Regions from separate parts of the Homo sapiens genome. Here all the other regions are linked to region 2. The links are contacts of gene promoters, found by promoter capture Hi-C in human tissues and cell types (Jung and others, 2019). All regions are on one chromosome and are shown on one strand. Each heading gives the region's core, a stretch centred on a gene start or on the middle of the fragment in contact. The rest is flanking DNA. Distances are from core to core; before and after follow the strand shown.

Region 1 (4,436 bases), core at 306-2,805, 240 kb after region 2:
AGAGCCAGCCTCAGGCAGACAGAAGGAAGTTCAGCCACTGGGCATGTGTTAGCATGGGGGATGTGTAGCCTAGAAGCTTCCTGGCTTTCAGTTATTATTATTTTTTTTTAACTTAAAAAAAAAAAACTCCAGATAATTCCCATACTTGTTTTTTACCTTTAAGGAATGTATTTGCCTTGGAGGTGCCATTACTGAATTATATTGACGCAGTTCATTAAAAATCTGCTTAGTATAAAACTGACTTGGGTCTAAAAAAATTAGGATTCTACTAAATAAATGCATCCTTTTTTGTTGCATTGAAAAACATTCTTAGTACTGTTATTAATCTTTTCACACCCCCCTACCCTTTGCTTGTGTTTCTGATTTACTCTGCTGTGAAGAAAGTTTTCAAGGTTTGTTACAGTGGAAAATGTTTTGGAAAAAGTTCTGGGTTGAGGGTAAGGAATTTAGAGCTTAGGAAATGAAATTTGGTGAACCTGATGAGCTCATTTGCCATTTTGTACCTCAGTTCCACTTTTCTGGAGCTAGAATAACTGTTCTTTATATACTAGTTAATAAAATCAACAGGTGTTTACTAAGCACTTACTATGTGCCAGTACCATAGGGCTGTAAAGGGAAGTGATTGGTCTCAGTGTTTCTTGGCCTTTTTTGGGGGAATGGGGGAGTACAGCTTATAGACCTTTGAGAATGATAAATTCCTACGCTGTCCTGTATGGTAGCCACTAGCCACATTTGGCTATTACAATTAAAGTTAATTATTGTTAAATATAATTTAAGAAGTTGGTTTCTCAGTTGCAGTAGCCACATTTTAAGTGCTCAATAGCTACATGTAACCAATGGCTACCACATAGAACTCAAATATAGAATGTTTTCATCATCCTAGAAAGTTCTGTGGGACAGTGCTACATGGAGATTCTCCCCAGAATAAAAACACTTTTCTGCCCACATACAATATTTTGCATACAACTGTTACAACTTTGCAGGATCAGGGTCAGGAGGTGGAGGTTGAGGGGGCAGGGAGGCAGGAGTTCACTGATCCCAGAAGCCCATTAATCCAAGAAAAGGAAGCCCTGATATAAAAAGCTGTTTGAAGACTCCATCACAGAATTTAACAAGTTAGTAAAAATAAAGCAACCGAGCTGCTACAAATACAGTATGTTCACTTGAAGTAACTTCATATAAAATCAAGCCCTTGTGTTCCCACCTGTTTGGGCATATTCAAAGAAAACACCAGTTCATTATCTAAAAGTTATTGAAAAATAATGTTAAAGATTTTTTGCAGTCTCTGAAAAAAACACCAGAGGGGAATTATATTCACAATATACTGCAAATCTTGAATTATCTTTCCCATTTTTCTCTTCTCATCCTCCCACACTTGACACTTGCTTTCCTAAAGCTCACCCCCAATTCCAAACTCTCTTCCAAACCTCCTAGTTCTGCTGCTGTTTCTCTTCTTCCTCCCCTGCATGGCTCAGTTCTTTATTATGTAGCTTTCCAGAATATGTTTTATTTTACTCCATCACACAAGTACAGTGGTAGAGAATGACAGAGAAAGCTCCCAGGGTGCTGTGACCAGGAACACGTTTCCCAGTGACTCATTCCATAGCTCTCCTGCCAGGCGGGACCAGTTCCTCATCTTCTCAGATGGTCTACTCCCCCATCACTTCCTCTCTGCCCACTGATACCTAGGGCCAAGGTCTGGGAGGAGCTCATGACTGAGCCTGACAGAGAGGAAAATATTTTGCTGGGATGCCAGAGGGGACTGATGTCACAGAGAAAAGGAGAAAACCAGATGGGCAGGTTTGCAGCATGTTTTATGCCTGGCGTTGTTGGTTTTTTGTTTGTTTTAAATTTTTATTTCAATAGGTTTTTGGGGAACAGGTGGTGTTTGGTTATATGGATAAGTTCTTTAAGTTATTTAGTGGTGATTTCTGAGATTTTCATGCACTCATCACCCGAGCTGTTGTTGGTTTTGGGATTTTTTTTTTTTTTTATGTTGTTTTTTTCAGTTGGGCACTGCCCTACACTCTGGTGGAGAATAAATGGCTTGCTGTGGGAACTGCATTAATTCTTAATAGTCTGCCAACATCAAAGGCTTCTTTTCAGTTTGGTGAAAAGAAGGACAAGCCCATTTCTGTAACAGGATCTCACTCTGTCGCCCAGGCTGGAGTGCAGCGGTGCAATATTGGCTCACTGCAACCTCTGCCTCCTGGGCTTAAGTGATTCTCCCCCCTCAGCCTCCCAAGTAGCTGGGACTATGGGTGTGTGCCACCATGCCCAGCTAATTTTTGTATTTTTTGTAGAGACGGGGTTTTAACATGTTGCCCAGGCTGGTGGTGCCTCAGCTCCTTCTCTCTTCTTCCCTGCTTGAACTCCTTGCCCCAGTCACACCAGTAGGGATTTTCCCTGGTCTGCTACTCTCTCTCCTATTTGGGTGATTTCTCATGGTGTCCTTTTTTATGTTTTGAGACAGAGTCTCACTCTGTTGCCCAGGCTGGAGTGCAGTGGTGCAATCATGGCTAACTACAGCTTCAACCTCCCAGGCTCAAGCAGTCCTCCCACCTCAGCCTCTTAAGTAGCTGGGACTGTCAGGTGCCGTGGCTAATGCCTGTAATCCCAGCACTTTGGGAGGCCGAGATGGGCGGATCACTTGAGCTCAAGAGTTCGAGATCAAGTAGCTGAGACCACAGGTGCACGTTACCATGCCTAGATAATTTTTTAATTTTTTTTTTTTTTTTTTTTTGAGACAGAGTCTCGGTGTTGACCAGGCTGGAGTTCAGTGGCGCAATCTCGGCTCACTGCAACCTCTGCCTCCCGGGTTCAAGCAATTCTCCTGCCTCAGCCTCCAAAGTAGCTGGGATTACAGGTGTGCGCCACCACCTCCGACTAATTTTTGTGTTTTTAGTAAAGATGAGGTTTTGCCATGTTGACCAGGCTGGTCTCGAACTCCTGACTTCAAGTGATCCACCCACCTTGACCTCCCCAAAGTGCTGGGATTACAGGCATGAGCCACTGGGCCTGGCAATTTTTAAGTTTTTTGTAGAGATAGGGGTCTCACTACATTGCCTAGCCTGGTCTCAAACTCCTGGACTCAAGCCATCCTCCTGCCTCAGCCTCCCAAAGTGCTGGGATTACTGCCACTGCACTCAGCAGTCATGCCCTCATTTTTGTCTGAAATGCCCTTCCCTCTTCCCCCTGGTTAACTCCTACTGGTTCTTCAAGACTCTAAACATCTCCTCCCAGAAGCCTTCCTTAGAATCTCTAAGACTGTGGTAGGTGACCCTCCGATGTAGTCTCAAGCAGCTTATCCTTATCACAACTGTACTCTACATGACCGAATAGCAACCTATATACACAACTCAAGGACAGAGCTGTATTATTGCATGCCCTGGGCCTCATACAGGACCTAAATCATAAATAATGTTGAATATCTAGATGAACAAAAAGTTTAAAAGGTGTCCCTGCCTAGAGTCTCTGGCCTTAGCAGAGAATGGAACCTATGAACCCTTTGAACATGAAGTCATAATTGTGGTCTCATTTGTGTTCTAACTGCAAAGGTCAGTACAGGAATAAAGGGGGTTTCATGGATGATCATAAATGCCTCCTAAGGATTTAGCTGTGCTCTATCTAATCCAAGAAGCCTGTACTAACCACATCCCTACATTTTCTGCTGGGTAACTGAACTCCTTTGGAGATTGTATGCTGCAGGACATTGCACAATTAAAGCTGAATTATTATTATTTGCAAGCAGTTTTCCACCTACAGTCCTATTGAGTCACTTAGCTGACTCTATTTCTCTCTCCCTAGGAGACTGCCCAATTGTCTCCAACAGCACTTTTTTTTCCTTTTTTGTCTTTCCAGGCAACAATCACATAGGAGTGGTAGGACTCAGAGAATGGTATTAATACACCTAAGCACACCACCCAAAATGAGAAGGCATCTGGACTTTCGGATGCCTATAGGATATGTAAGCTCCTATAAGGCTGCACACTTAGACTCGAGATCATATTTGGCCAGGGCTCTTTCCTGCTTGTCTAGAGAACAGCTAGATGCTTTACATAATCCAGAATACAACAGATAGTTATAATGGTTTTATTTTAGGAATCATTTATTATGTTTTATTCCAATTATAAAAGTAGTGCATGCTAATTACAATTTGAGAAATACAGAAAAGCATAAATAAAAACATAGAAATCACTGCCATCAAGAGATATCTCCACAACCACAACATTTGGAAAGCTTTTTCTATTTTTTTTTTGTTACAAGCAGCAAATACACTATATATGTGTATACATTAAACACCACTTTCAATTCACTTTAACTGTAAATTACTGTGACTTTAATATCTCTGTCATATTAAAAACATGACTTAATAATTGTGTAACATTCAAAGTTAATGTGTTGAGCCACTCCCTTATTATCAAGTTTAATTTTTT
Region 2 (4,295 bases), core at 1,243-3,742:
TTTATAGAATTCCAATCTAAGACATTTAAACTGACTTAGCAGATAATACAGTGCTAGTTTGCCAACGTTAGTTTGCCAACTGTCAGTGTAAGAAAGCCGAGATCAGCAAACTTTTCTGTAGAGCCAGATTCTAAATAATTTAGGCTTTGCCGCCACATGGTCTCTGTCACAACTACTCAACTCTATCATTGTAGCCACAAAAGCATCCACAGACAATACGCAAATGAATGAATGTGGCTATATTCCAGTAAAACTGTATTTATGGACACTGAAATATGAATTTTACATAACCACGTGTCTCAAGATTTTAAAGTTTTTTTCAACCATTTAAAAATGTACAAACCTAATCTTAGTTTGTGGGCTACACAAAATCATACAGTAGACAATACATATCATACATATCCAGGCAAGAGGATAAATCTGCCGGTGAAGACATTAGGCCCAAGTGACTAGAACATGAGCCGCAAATTGAAATAATTCTAATCACAGCAAATTTCACTGATTTCTTTCTAGGATGATTCCGGATAGCATCTTCTCCACAGCTCATTTTGATACTTGATCTTTTATTGCCTGAGTTAGTTGTTTTCGTGTTTTACAAGTTGTCTCTTTATTAAGACGACAAACTTGACAACTACTGATTATTCTGTAACTGCTAAAAAGGCTAACATTGGCTTTGGACTCTTAGAGGGTACTCAAATAATCTGCTGGATAGAATGAACGAGACGTTAAGAAGAGTAACAAAGAGGTTGCCAGACTCTAAGAAGCTGCAGAGGTGGGTTTGGACAATGAGCAACAATCCCAAGCCCCCAGATAGGATCTGAGTGCCCACTGAGAATCCTGCTTAGGGCCAGGCACAGAATACCCTAACTCACTTGGATGGCAGGAGAGGGCATGAGGTTACCAAGACCAGGTGCTGAGCATCTGTACTTTCAGAGCCCCAAATGAAAACTGGTTCAGAAGAAAAGAAGCTTTTTCACACTGTTTCAATAAAACTAACAAGAATGTCTAAAGATACGTTCAGGTCTGGTAAGGACAGTCTCAACCCAAACAGTATTGGGAAACGGGGGCATCCAAATATCTAGAATCAAATTAAAACTCTTTTAGGAAATGGGAATTCCCTTTCGCACAGGGTGGACCAAGGCCTACTCCCCCCAAATTTCCATCCCCAAATTACTAGAGCTGCAATCGGCAACCTGAGGTGCACCTGAACAGCCCTGGGCTGCCTGCTATAGCAGCTCAGCAGACACCATGGCAGCCTTCGATCCATCCAGGGAATGTTGCTGCTGCCACAGGGTTAGGAGACTGCACGCCAGGAGTGATGGGCAGGCCAAGATAGGCCTAACTAGGTGAGTGCACACTCCTGCAGGGAAAACAGCAGCAAGAGAAAAGACGTCAAGTCAGGGACTGGCTTGGCAGAGAACAGAAAAAGGGAGATCACCCAGGGCAGGGACTGGGCAACATTTTTCTTCCCACCCATCCTCCTATCAACGAAAAAGCTTAGGATGGTTGCCTTTTGTGCAGGAAACGCATTTCTGAAACTCTGAAATCATTCTTAATTCACGAGAATGTCAAAAGCAGGATTCACATGTCGGAGTCTGTACACAAACTGAAACTTTATTTTTGTTTTAATGTGGCACAGTTTTAAATGAGCAGGAAATGCCACGGCTATGTGTTTTGAGGAAGAACCCATCTGCACACTAAGGGGCAACGCTCCCGACCCAAAGAGGGAGGGAGGCCGGGCAGGCTGCAATGGGGGAGGGCTGCCATGGGGCCAGGGCGGAGGAAGCAGGTAAGGCTTCTGGCCTGCCAGAGGGCTGGGGGAGCCTGGCTGAGCGGGAACTTCACTGATGGCCGGGGGTTCCAGGCTGAGGGCCCAGGGGCCCATTTATTAGGGGACCTCGGCCCCCGGCCGGCTCAGGAGGATCCAGTTCAGCTGAACGGGGCCCTCTACCCAAACAGGTCCGGCAGAGCTGGGGAGCCGACCGGCCGAAGGGCATCCTAGCGTGGCCGGACTCACAGGAATGCGGTCCAGCCCAGGAGAGTCCTTCCCCACCAGAGCTACGTGAGCGTGGCGGGAGCAAAGCCCGGCCGGCGGGGCAGCGGGAAGCGCGGCCCGGCCGGCCGAGGGGGTCTGGCGGGGACCCCCGCGCTGGTCAAGTGGCCGGGTCCGCTGAAGGCTCCGGGAGCCGGGGCACGGCGCGAGGGGAGGGCGCGGCCCGCGCGGCACTCACTCTCGGTGACCCGGCTGAGGCGCAGGACGTGCTCGGGCCGGATGGTGTCCAGCGCCAGCAGCTCCTGCTCCGTGACCGCTGCCCCGACGCCGTCGTCGGCCGCGTGGTGGGGCGCCTGCCGCCGCGCCTTCAGGCGGTTCAGGACGCCGCCGCCCGCCTTCTTCTTCTCCTCCTTGCCAGCCACCAGCCCCCCGGGCCCAGCCGCCGACGCCGCGGCCGCAGCCTTCGGGTTAGACCCGCTCATCGCTCCGCCGCCAAGATGGCCGCCGCCTCCACAGCGCGGTAACTATGGAGAGCGGGGGCGGGGCCCGGGGCCCGGCGGGGAAGGGGCGGGGAGGGGGCGGGGCGGGGGCGGGGGCGGGCGCCCGGGGGGCTGTGGAATTCCCTTTCGCACAGGGTGGACCAAGGCCCACTCTCCCCAAACTTCCATCCCCAAATAACTAGAGCTGCCATCAGCAACCTGAGGTGCACATGAGCAGCCCTGGGCTGACTCCTATAGCAATTCAGCGGACGACACCATGGCAGCCTTCGATCCATTCAGGGAATGCTGCTGCTGCCACAGGGTTAGGAGACCGCAGGCCAGGAGTGATGGGCAGGCCAAGATAGGCCTAACTGGGTGACTGCACACTCCTGCGGGGCCCGGGGGGCGGTGCTTCGGCTACTGCCCCAACTTTGGTCCTGCCAGGTGGAGGGCCTAGGGGTGGCTGGAGCTTCAGCAACCCCACTCCCCATCAGACCCCCAAGATCCTCCACGATGTTTAAATACATATCTTACGGTCAAATGAATTTACGTCATATAAACTTTCCTCCTCCTCATCCTCCTCCTGGTCTGAAAGAGCACACAGAATCTTCCGTGCACCATCTCGGCATTCTCAATCCAAGAGTTCTGTCACCAGTCCCAACAGCACAATGGCAACTAATTCCCAGTAATCACACCAAGAAGAAGAATGGCCAGTGTTTACTGCGCACTTGCTATATGGCAGGACACTTGCTATAGGGCAGGCTCCTCACCTCACAACAACCCTGTGAGGTATTACTGTCTCCATTTTACAGATCAGGAAGCTCAAGTTCAGAGAAGTCAGGTAACATGTCCAAAGTCCCTCAAGCAGTAAGAGGAGGGAACAGGGATTTTAATCCAGGTCCATCTGACCCAAGGCCTGTTCTTCAACACTAAGCTATTAGTGGACAATGCATCTTGAGAAAATGTTTATTAATATATTTAGCATAGAAGGTAAGTTAAAGCAGTGTTTGTTTTGCAAAGGCAGTTTCAAGACAAACTTTCCAATGAGATTGCCATCCGTAAGCCCTACTGTGCCAGGCCCTGGGCTAGACATTGGGCTAGGCTACAGGAGATGTAAGAGTGAGGGCAGGGATTGGGTCTGCCTCACCCCTGAATTCCCAGCAGTTCAGCTAATGCCTGACACGTGGTAGGTGCTCAGTAATGATTGAATGAGAGCCTGAACAGTATCCCACTATGGAAGAGCTCCCACTTTTGTTAGAGAAGACTGTAAAGTACACAATTCATTATGTGACCCTTCCTTTTCACAAGGTAGGTTAGTATGAACTGGAAGACAAACTAGATTCACTGACTGCACTAAGAGATGCAGCAAAGGTGCTAGGAGAACACACAGGAGTGGTTTATTCTGACCTGGCTGTAAAAGCTTGAGGGCTTCGGAAGTTTTCAGAGGCAATATCTGCACTGAGCTTTGGAAGTTAGCCATGACCTCACCAATTAGCCAGAAGTGGGTCAACAGGGGGATGTGGTCTACCGTCTTCCACCCTGAGGGGCTCCTTCTCTAGGGATTCTAGATCTGCACTGTTCTGTGTTGGAGGCCTGGGCCTGATTGATGCAGTGTGTCTGCTAGGTCTGACATCACCTCTCAGCCAGGCTAGAGTAAAATTGCAACCGTCCCCCAGAGCCTCTTGACGTTCTTGCCAGGCCTTGCTTGCTGAGTCCCTCTCACCAAAGCCACCAAGACAGGCATCTCTTGGTTCCTGGACAAAGTCCAAACCTGACCCCACCCCAGCTGCCCAATTGGGTGGCATAGTGTGTGGCCAAATTCC
Region 3 (4,241 bases), core at 1,446-3,945, 210 kb after region 2:
GCCTCTTAAATAGCTGGGTCTACAGGCATACGCCATAGTGCCTGGTTAATTTTTTAATTTGTAATTTTTTTTTTTTTTGGAGACCGAGTCTCCCTCTGTCACCTAGGCTGGAGTGCAGTGGTGTGGTCTTGGCTCACTGCAACCTCCGCCTCCCAGGTTCAAGCAATTCTCCTGCCTCAGCCTTCCAAGTAGCTGGGATTACAGGTACCTACCACCATGCCCAGCTAATTTTTGTATTTGTAGTAGAAACAAGGTTTCACCATGTTGGCCAGGCTGGTCTCGATATCCTGACATCAGGTGATCTGCCCACCTCAAGCCTCCCAATGTGTTGGGATTACAGGTGTGAGCCACCATACCTGGCTGCCATAATTTTTTTTTTCTTACTAGAGACAGGGTCTCCCTGTGTTGCCCAGGCTGCTCTCGTACTCGTGGGCTCCCACCTTGGCCTCCCAAAGTGCTGGGACATGAGGCACTGCACCCAGCCATAAATATTTTGAGTGTGGATGAATCATAAGGTTTTAAAGAGGCCTTGCTAAGAAACTGCAGAAATTGGTCCGGCACAGTGGCCTATGCCTGTAATCCGAGCACTTTGGGAGGCCAAAGAGGGCAGATTGCTTGAATCCAGGAGTTCGAGACCAGCCTGGGCAACATGGCAAAATCCCATCTCTACAAAAAATAAAAAATTAGCCAGATGTGGTGGTACACACCTGTGGTCCCAGATATTTGGAAGGCTGAGGTGGGAGGATCATCTGAGCCCGGGAGGCGGAGGTTGCAGTGAGTCGAGATCACACCACTGCACTCTAGCTTTGGTGACAGAGTGAGACCCTGTCTCAAAAATGAATTGCAGAAATCAGTCTGTGACTTGGCTAACAGTTTGTGGATAACATAGTTCAAAGGTATGTGAAAGGGCTTCAGATACGCTGCTTCCTGACCCAGCACAGTAAGGATCATTTACGTGCCTTCACTTACAAGATCTTGCCCTGTCACTAAAAAGCTTCTAGATAGAGCTAGCTATATACAACTCTCTCAAAGAACAGCAGCTAAGAGCATTTGATAAATGCTTAGAAAAACTTAGCTTACATTTTCTTTTCAGCCAGCTGGAGCCTATTGGCTTTTGAAATTAACAGGAAGGAACAGGCACTGGAAGGAGCTTCATAAACCATCAACCCAGTCTTATCTCCATAGCAACATGGTTTTCTCACATCTGAATAAAAAAACAAAAAAGCTGCCAACTTGACAGTAAATATGGGACAGATCATATTCAACTAAAACTCCCAGTGTCTAGCTATCAGTCTTGAATCAGCTTTTGGGTCTGTAGCTAGAGACAGATCATCCGTTCTGAGTAGGGCTTAACTGGACAAACTAAAGCTTTGGAGGCCAAATTCCCTGTGGGCTTCAAATAGAAATATAGCCAGGTCACTAAAGAGGGAAAAGGGATAGAAAAAATATGAGTTAGGCCAGGTTCGGTGGCTCACACCTGTAATCCCAGCACTTTGGGAGGCCGAGGTGGGCAGATCACGAGGTCAGGAGATCGAGACCATCCTGGCTAACATGGTGAAACCGTCTCTACTAAAAGTACAAAAAAAATTAGCCTTGCGTGGTGGTGGGTGCCTGTAGTCCCAGCTACTCGGGAGGCTGAGGAAGGAGAATGGTGTGAACCTGGGAGGCGGAGCTTTCAGTGAGCCGAGATCGCGCCACTGTACTCCAGCCTGGGCGACAGTGAGACTCCGTCTCAAAAAAAAAAAAAAAAGAAAAAATATGAATTAAACCGGGTGTGGTGGCTCGTACCTGTAATCCCAACACCTTGGGAGGATTGCTTGAGCCCAGGAATTCAAGACCAGCCTGGGCAACACAGGGAGACTCCAGCTCTACAAAAAATTCAAAAGTTAGCTAGGCATGGTGGCATGTACTTATGGTCCCAGTTACTTTGGAGGCTGAGGTGGCAGGATCACTTGGGCCCAGGAGGTTGAAGTTGCAGTGGGCTATGATCACACCACTGCACTCCAGCCTGGGCAATAGGAGTCTCAAAAAAAATGAAAGTTAGAAAAAAGGAACATTTTCGGTCTGTTTATATAAATACAAACATAAAATTACCCCAGTTGCAGTCTCCTGTTTATTCCACAGTACCTCATCCTTTTTTGCAGACAGCAGGGAAAAAACTGGCACAATAGTCAAAATTGCCAGGTTTGGTGGCTCACGCCTGTAATCCCAGCACTTTGGGAGGCAGAAGTGGGCAGATTACCTGAGGTCAGGAGTTCGAGACTAGCCTGACCAATATGGTGAAACCCCATCTCTACTAAGAATACAAAATTAGCCGGGCATGGTGGCACATGCCTGTAATCCCAGCTACTTGGGAAGCTGAGGCAGGAGACTTGCTTGAACCCAGGAGGCAGAGGTTGCAGTGAGCTGAGATCACGCCATTGCACTCCAGCTTGGGCAACAAGAGCGAAACTCTGTCTTAAAAAAGTCAAAATCTTGCACCTCTACCCTGAAACCCTTCCAATCCTAAAGTAGCACAACTTTGCTAGGATTCTTAAAACCACACATTCTGAAGAAAAATAAACTTCCAAATATGTTACTGACCTAATTCTACTCTTACAATGGGAGTTATCACCCATCAATTCCAATCTATCGCCCTCTTCTGTGTAGCAGTCACCTAGCTGCTTAGAAATCCCAATGGCATCTTAGAGATCCATGGGAAAACATAGGCTAACTACAAGTCAGGACCCTTCTTGCAGTTTCCCAAGATGGGTGTGGGTTGTTCCAGCCTGTCTTATTTCCTTTCCACCTACAAGTCTGCCATATTTGCTTTTCTACGACTGCAGTCCTCTTAAAATTGATAGCAGGAAACCTCTGATAGCTACTTGTCCCCAGCTTTAATTGGGTCTTTTCAGGAAAAGGTATCAATTCACACTTGTTCCTGACCACAGCAAAGCACAGCACAGCAGGCTGATAAAGTCTTTGCAGGAATTTACATTATTAGAAGAGCATGAAAACTGCTGCTCAGAAACATTTACTTTCCCCTAAGGCCACCTTCTTTCTAGGCAGGGGAGGGGGCTAGACAAGGGTCCTGGAATCCATTTCATTATCCCAACTTTGTTTTGAGCTTATTTCCATTTTATAGCCATAGAAAGCTTCAAGTACTACTACATACACATCCATCACCACAACCTGAGGCCAAAGGCCCAGAACATTCTATAGCAATGTCTTAACAAATATCCTTAAACATTGATTTTTTTCAGATTAGGACTAAAGATTTAATTTAAATGTTTCTTTATCATGCACTGCATTTCTCAACATGCACAACAGTTGCAGGATGGGTGAGAGAATGTGACTAAAGAGTACTGAAATACCCCACAGAAACTTAACTTCTGTAAGGATGGACTCATCCCCACCAACCTGGGCATCTGATCAAGTGACCGTCTTCAACGCTGTTATTTGAACAAATTGTAATTCACACACATACACATCTGCATCAGATTTATTTTTTAAAGGAATGGATTTTGAGAGAAAACAACGTGGGCAGAAGTATGGAATAGAAAATAAATACAAATGTAGGCTATTCTGCTAATTGTTTTATAACCACGACAAACTAGTACAGAGAATGCCCTGTACAAAACACAACAAAGGTTCAAACATCGAGATGTTCCCTTAGCAAGGCTGAAAATTTCAGTCTCTGGTATTTGGAATTTAGGCTGCAGTCCTTGTTTTTGGATGGATCACTGGGTGTGTGGCACAGTCCATGCTTTTAACCAGATTTGAACAGAAGAATGGCCACTTGGCCCAGGTAGAAGTAGATGAAGTGTTTGGTTTCATGTGTCACATAACTACCGAAGTTCCTCCCCACGATGCAATGCCAGGTGGGATTGTACTTCTTGTCAAATTCCTGGAAAAGACAAAAGAAAAGAACTAGGATTTTAATTACCAGAGGTCAGTGTTTGCCTCTTGGATAAGCCAGAGCCTGTAGGGGCAGAAAGGAGGAACGTCAGCATCTGCAAATTCTTAGAATGAAAGAATGTTCCCCAGCTCCAAGCCGCCTACATAGTACATTAATACAAACATACTTGCAGTCTGAGCGAAGATGGGAATGGAGGCTGAGGAGGTCAAAGGACGAAAGGTCAGCCCTAAAGACAGGGTGTTTTGTTATTATGGTAATTACACCTTCATACCTTCTATAATATTCATTGACAGACGGTGACATCAACAGGTGTAGTTTATCATGTTCTGTGTAGAGAACTAAA

Evidence for each region. Contacts are between HindIII fragments. The study calls those that stand out against the background at their distance.
Region 1: a fragment that was not itself captured here is called in contact with the fragment with the promoter of UNC119B in region 2 in 1 of the 25 tissues and cell types used here (dorsolateral prefrontal cortex).
Region 3: a fragment that was not itself captured here is called in contact with the fragment with the promoter of UNC119B in region 2 in 2 of the 25 tissues and cell types used here (dorsolateral prefrontal cortex and thymus).

What each region holds. Positions count from the first base shown.
Region 1 is chr12:120,472,000-120,476,435 of GRCh38, reverse strand. It overlaps a transcript of DYNLL1 not described here. Among named protein-coding and RNA genes, the nearest start is that of SRSF9, 4.5 kb to the right of the region's middle. The HindIII fragment of the contact is 6,330 bases long and covers 1-4,436 here.
Region 2 is chr12:120,708,655-120,712,949 of GRCh38, reverse strand. It overlaps UNC119B (unc-119 lipid binding chaperone B), which reads right to left and starts at 2,492. Exons shown (of 5, transcript NM_001080533.3): 1 at 2,232-2,492. The coding sequence starts at 2,475. LOC124903036 (a long non-coding RNA gene) reads left to right here and starts at 2,444. Exons shown (of 2, transcript XR_007063491.1): 1 at 2,444-2,513; 2 at 2,676-3,017. RefSeq lists silencers at 2,183-2,452, 2,543-2,602 and an enhancer at 1,733-2,575. The HindIII fragment of the contact is 6,851 bases long and covers 1,233-4,295 here.
Region 3 is chr12:120,497,718-120,501,958 of GRCh38, reverse strand. It overlaps DYNLL1 (dynein light chain LC8-type 1), which reads right to left. Exons shown (of 3, transcript NM_003746.3): 3 at 3,466-3,886. The coding sequence ends at 3,749. Among named protein-coding and RNA genes, the nearest start is that of DYNLL1, 3.7 kb to the right of the region's middle. The HindIII fragment of the contact is 3,028 bases long and covers 1,182-4,209 here.